Regions from separate parts of the Homo sapiens genome. Here region 1 is linked to region 2. Evidence: promoter capture Hi-C in 16 types of primary human blood cells and fetal thymus (Javierre and others, 2016). All regions are on one chromosome and are shown on one strand. The core of a region is centred on a gene start or on the middle of the fragment in contact, and the rest is flanking DNA. Distances in the headings are between cores, read along the strand shown. Region 1 has its middle 14 kb from the start of ARMC12. Region 2 holds the start of TULP1 (TUB like protein 1).

Region 1 (2,829 bases), core at 226-2,725, 240 kb before region 2:
TGGCACACTCCTGTAGTCCCAGCTACCCAAGGAGGCTGACGTGGAAGGACCACGTGAGCCTGGGAGGTCGAGGCTGCAGTGAGCTGTGTTTGCTCCACTGCACTTTAGCCTGGGAGACAGAGTGAGACCCTGTCTCAAAAAAAAAAAAAAAGAAAGAAAGAAAGAAGTAGGCAAGTCCTGATGTGGAGGACAGGGCAGTAGCAGTGGAAATGGGGGAACTAGGTGGATGTGGTGGGGAGGAGAATTTGAAAGTGATGCCCAACACCTTGTTGGTGACATGGGCACACATGGAGCTGGTCGAAAGGAAACGTCGGCATTTGACAAGTTCCACTGGGGTGGCTGCAGTGTATTCAGCAGCAAGAAGGAGCAGCCTCAGGCCTGAACTCAGGAGGGAAACAAGGGATGCTGATTCAGATCTGGTAGTGACTGCCCACTCATTCTGGGAGACAGTGACGGGGTTGGCCTCTCTATAGGCTCTGGCTCTTTCTCATCAGCCCATCCTCATCAAGAAACACCCTCCCTCTTCCACCTGAGTGATATGACCTTGGGCCAGGGATTAAGTGGGGACAGATTTCCTTTAAGTACTTCAGTCCTAAACTGGCCTCTAAAATCCAGAAGCATCAAGATCCTCCTCAGTTTCCATAGGTTTGGGCTTAGAATCCATGACCCACTCTTACGGGGCTTGGACCGAAGAATGTGAGGGCAAAAGAAAAGCTCAGTAGTAGGAGGTTCTAATCCTATTTCTGCCCTAGACCAGTCATGTGACCTTGAGCAAGTCACTTTTCCATTTTGGGTTTGTTTTCCTTTCAGGAAAATGCCAGGGTTGGTCCTGGACGAGACTAGTTTTCAAATCCTGCTTCTGAAGAACACCGGGAGCCCGTGGCTGGACCAGGTTCTTTGTCCTAGATCGAGCAGTCTCAGGCTGGGAATAGCTCCAACATTAGGTTTCTCTCCCGTAGCATTTTCTTAAACCGTTAGCAATCCTTACTGTTTCCCAGCAAGGATTCACAGATAAAACAGTGAATGAGGGCTGGGCGTGGTGGCTCACACCTGTAACCCTAGCACTTTGGGAGGCCAAGGTGGGGGGATCACGAGGTCAGGAGATCGAGACCATCCTGGCCAACATGGTGAAACCCCTTCTCTACTAAAAAATACAAAAAATTAGCTGGGTGTTGTGGCGCGCTCCTGTAGTCCCAGCTACTCGGGAGGCTGAGGCAGGAGAATTGCTTGAACCCGGGAGGCAGAGGATGCAGTGAGCTGAGATTGTACCACTGTACTCCAGCCTGGCGACAGAGCGAGACTCCGTCTCAAAAAAACAAAAAAAACAATGAAGGAACAACTGGGAAACGCAAATGAATGGGGAATTGGAAAATGGATGACCATATTTGGTTTGACAGTCTTCTTGTTTCTGGAAACTTCATGGTTATGGTGTTATATTACTCACACCATTGTTCTGGTTTCCAAAGCTAAGTTTCAATGACTTTTCAGCACGCTTCATAGAGGACTCTAGGACTCCCCAGTGCCCATAACCTGAAGAGACTGGAGAAATGCTGGAGGCAACACTCTCCAAGGACCTCCCCAGTGATGATCTTTTGTTTTCTCAGTGATGATTTCTTTTTTTTTTTGAGATGGAGTCTCGCACCTCTGTCTCTGAGGCTGGAGTGCAATAGCGTGATCTCAGCTCACCGCAACCTCTGCCTCCCGGGTTCAAGCAATTCTCCTGCCTCAGCTTCCCAAGTAGCTGGGATTACAGGTGCCCGCCACCACATCTGGCTAGTTTTGTATTTTTAGTAGAGACGGGGTTTCTCCGTGTTGGTCAGGCTGGTCTCGAACTCCCGACCTCGGGTGATCCTCCCGCCTCAGCCTCCCAAAGTGCTGGGATTACAGGCGTGAGCCACTCTGCCCGGCTTTCTCAGTGATGATTTCATAGCTCCTCAGAGCCCATCTTTGAGGAATGCATGCAGAACACTGTGGCTTACGTTCGTTAACTCATATAATCCCCCTTTCATTTTCCCAACAGCGTCATGAAATCAGTACTATTATTATATGCATTTTATAGATGAGGGGCCTGAAGCTCAAATAGGGTTAACTGCTCCCCTGAGGTCACACAGTAAGTGACAGAGCTGGGACTGGAAGCGAGCACTCTGATTCCAGAGCTCCCTTTCTGACCCAGTATGCCTGCAGATCTCTGTCATTCATGCTGTCACCAAGGATCAACAGTTCTTCCTTGGACACGTGGAAAGAATGATCTTCCTCATCCCCTTTGGCTAATGAGATGTGAGCAGAAGTGATGACATTTATCACTACCACATTCCCTGTCCTTCTGTAATAGTTGTAGAAACACAATGAGGAAGCCTCCCTCAACCTGGGTCTCTGTGTGAGGATGTTGTGGAGTAGAGGCCTGCCCTTCCACCCCCACCGCTGATCTGCAATGGGCATGCAGTGTAAACAAGAATTAACATTTGCCATGTTTTTTTTTTCTTGAGACGGAGTCTCGCTTTGTCGCCCAGGCTGGAGTGCAGTGGCGCAATCTCGGTTCACTGCAAGCTCCGCCTCCTGGGTTCACGCCATTCTCCTGCCTCAGCCTCCTGAGTAGCTGGGACTACAGGCGCCTGCTACCACGCCCGGCTAATTTTTTGTATTTTTAGTAGAGACGGGATTTCACCGTTTTAGCCAGGATGGTCTCGATCTCCTGACCTCGTGATCTGCCCGCCTCGGCCTCCCAAAGTGCTAGGATTACAGGCGTGAGCCACCGCGCCTGGCCCCCTTTGCCATGTTTAAGCCACTGAGGTGTGAGTGTTGTTACTGTGGGATAGCCTGGCCCATCCT
Region 2 (2,755 bases), core at 100-2,599:
CAGCCTGAGCAAAGGCATGGAGGACAGAACTGTAAAGGCAGTAAGGAAACCTCTGTGGCTGGATGAAGAGTATGGCTTGGGATAACCCTGTGGTTAGAAAGGCAGACTGGGGCCAGATCAGGGAGAGCCTTGAATGTCAACCCAACACATTTAAACTTAATCCTTAGGCAGTAGGGAGCCAATGAATGTTTTTGAACAAAGGTGGCAACCGAAGAAATAGTATTTTAGAAAGTTCCATTTGATATGGATTTACTGTAATTAGCCAGGATCGTGCCACTGCACTCCAGCCTGGGTGACAAGAGCAAAATTCTGTCTAAAACAAAACAAAACAATACCACAAAAGCATGTCCCCTATCAGTGAAAAAAGAAAAAGAGTTAAGGGTATACCTCCAATACAGACATATTCTTTTTTTTTTTTTTTTTTCTGAGATGTAGTCTTGCTCTTTTTGGCCAGGCTGGAGTGCATTGGCAAGATCTCGGCTCACTGCAACCTCCGCCTCCCAGGTTCAAGTGCTTCTCCTGCCTCAGCCTCCCCAGTAGCTGGGACTACAGGTGCCCACCACGATGCCCAGCTAATTTTTTATTTATTTATTTATTTATTTTGAGACGGAGTCTCACTCTGTTGCCCAGGCAGGAGTGCAGTGGCATGATTTCCGCTCACTGCAAGCTCCGCCTCCCAGGTACACGCCATTCTCCTGCCTCAGCCTCCTGAGTAGCTGGGACTACAGGTGCCTGCCGCCATGCCCGGCTAATTTTTGCATTTTTAGTAGAGATGAGGTTTCACCATGTTAGCCAGGATAGTCTCGATCTCCTGACCTTGTGATCCGTCTGCCTCGGCCTCCCAAAGTGCTGGGATTACAGGGGTGAGCCACCGCACCCGGCTAATTTTTGAATTTTTAGTAGAGACTGGGTTTCACTGTGCCGGCCAGGCTGGCCTCGAACTCCTGACCTCAAATGATCCACCTGTCTCAGCCTCCCAAAGTGCTGGGATTACAGGTGTAAACCACCGCACCTGGCTCTAGTTCTTATTTTTTGTGAGAAATAAAGATAAATACAGGATCCAGTCTAATGTTTTCTTCCACATCCCATTGACAAATGACTAATCGGCCCCTCTCACCCCAAGCTTCTGGGGGCTTCTCGGGGCAGGTGGAGCTGGTGGCCATCCTGCAGGCTGCTGGGGATCTGAGAAGAACTGGAGTTGAGATTCTTCCCCCAGTGGCCTGGGCCTAGCAGGGGAGGGTCGTGGGCTGTAGCACCTCCCACAGCGCGGCCAGGCCTCCACTCCTTGAGCAGGGGGAAGGGGGGTGAAGTTGAGCCGAGATTAGCAGGAGTCGGGAGGGAGGCTCCTAGACCTGCAGAGAAAGGGGTGCGATAGGCAAAGGCACCATGCCTCTGCGGGATGAAACCCTCCGAGAGGTGTGGGCCTCTGACAGGTCTGGAAGGCCCCCAGTTCGTGGCACCTGAACCCTGGGGGGCCTAGATGGAGGGATGGGGAGTGGGTGGGATGGGGAGGGAAGGGGAAGGGAGACAGGCTGATCCCTTTGCTACCCTCAGTGGGCATGAAGAAGAAAGCCTGAGCCCGGAGGCCCCGCGGCGCCCCAAACAGGTATGCCACCCCACTTGGAAAGGAAGCAGAAAGATGTCCCCGCTGTGCGTAAACCCACGCAGGGTAGGGGGTCTAGGGGTGGGACAGGTCCCCCTTAGCAGGGTCTGGGGGTTGCATGTCTGGAGATCTGGGGGGAGAAAGGGCTGTTTGGGGACTTGGGGTTTCCAGGGAAGGAATAGGGACTTTGGAGCATTGGATATGGCCACGATGCATGGAAGGGGTCATCCTGCCTCACTCCAAGAAGGGGGCTGCAGTTCCCCCCGGATAATCTGCGGTTATTTCTGGCGGCTCAAGGGATTAGAGGGGGATGGGCGGGCCTCAGCGCCCCCCTTTCCTTCCTCGACCTCCTCTTGACCCCCGTTCCGCAGCGACCCGCCCCGGCACAGAGGCTAAGGAAGAAGAGGACGGAGGCCCCCGAATCCCCCTGCCCCACGGGATCCAAGCCCCGGAAGCCCGGAGGTGGGCGGGGTGCAGAGCCCGGGTGGACCCCCAGGGTGTGGGCTGCGGAAGGGAGGGGCTTGAGGGCCGGCGCGGGTGTCGCCGAGCCCTGGAACGGGGTGGGGGAGGAGGGGGCGGGGAGTGATGAGAGGGGAGGGATTGGGGTTGGGGTTGGGGTTGGGGTTGGTGTAGAAGGGGGTGGCGTTGGGGTAGAAGGGGGTGGGAAGCTGAATGGAAGCCGGGGAGAAGTGTTGAAAGTGGAAACCCAAGCCCAGGGGAGATCCCTAGGGTGAGGAGCCCGAGGGGGTGCGCCCAGGCTTGGGGGTAGCGGGTAGAGGCGCTGCCTCGCGGACCCGCGGATGGGACCCTGTCTGAACCCCGCATCTCGGCTCAGCTGGGCGGACGGGGAGGCCGCGGGAGGAGCCTTCCCCAGACCCAGCCCAGGCCCGGGCGCCGCAGACGGTCTACGCCAGGTTCCTCAGGGACCCCGAGGCCAAGAAGCGCGACCCCCGGGAAACCTTTCTGGTAGCCCGTGCCCCAGACGCGGAGGACGGTGAGAGAGGGCCCCAGGGACGCGGGTGAGGGGGCGGTGGAGCTAAGGAGAGAAGGGGCTGGCTGGACGGGAACGGCCCAGAGAGGCAGAAAACAACTGTAGTCAAATAGCCCCCACTTTTCTGGCCTTATCTTTGAGCCAGGTATTGTGCTAAGCAC

Evidence for each region. The method cuts DNA at HindIII sites, captures the fragments that hold promoters and counts their contacts. A CHiCAGO score of 5 or more calls a contact.
Region 1: a contact is called between a fragment that was not itself captured here and the fragment with the promoter of TULP1 in region 2, in 11 of 17 cell types (naive CD4 T cells, naive CD8 T cells, activated CD4 T cells and 8 more). The highest score is 7.5, in naive CD4 T cells.

Annotation. Positions count from the first base shown.
Region 1 is chr6:35,749,411-35,752,239 of GRCh38, reverse strand. No RefSeq gene overlaps it. Among named protein-coding and RNA genes, the nearest start is that of ARMC12, 14 kb to the right of the region's middle. The HindIII fragment of the contact is 5,130 bases long and covers 1-2,829 here.
Region 2 is chr6:35,511,490-35,514,244 of GRCh38, reverse strand. TULP1 (TUB like protein 1) reads left to right here and starts at 1,349. Exons shown (of 15, transcript NM_003322.6): 1 at 1,349-1,433; 2 at 1,555-1,606; 3 at 1,975-2,065; 4 at 2,439-2,597. The coding sequence starts at 1,387. The HindIII fragment of the contact is 3,090 bases long and covers 1,126-2,755 here.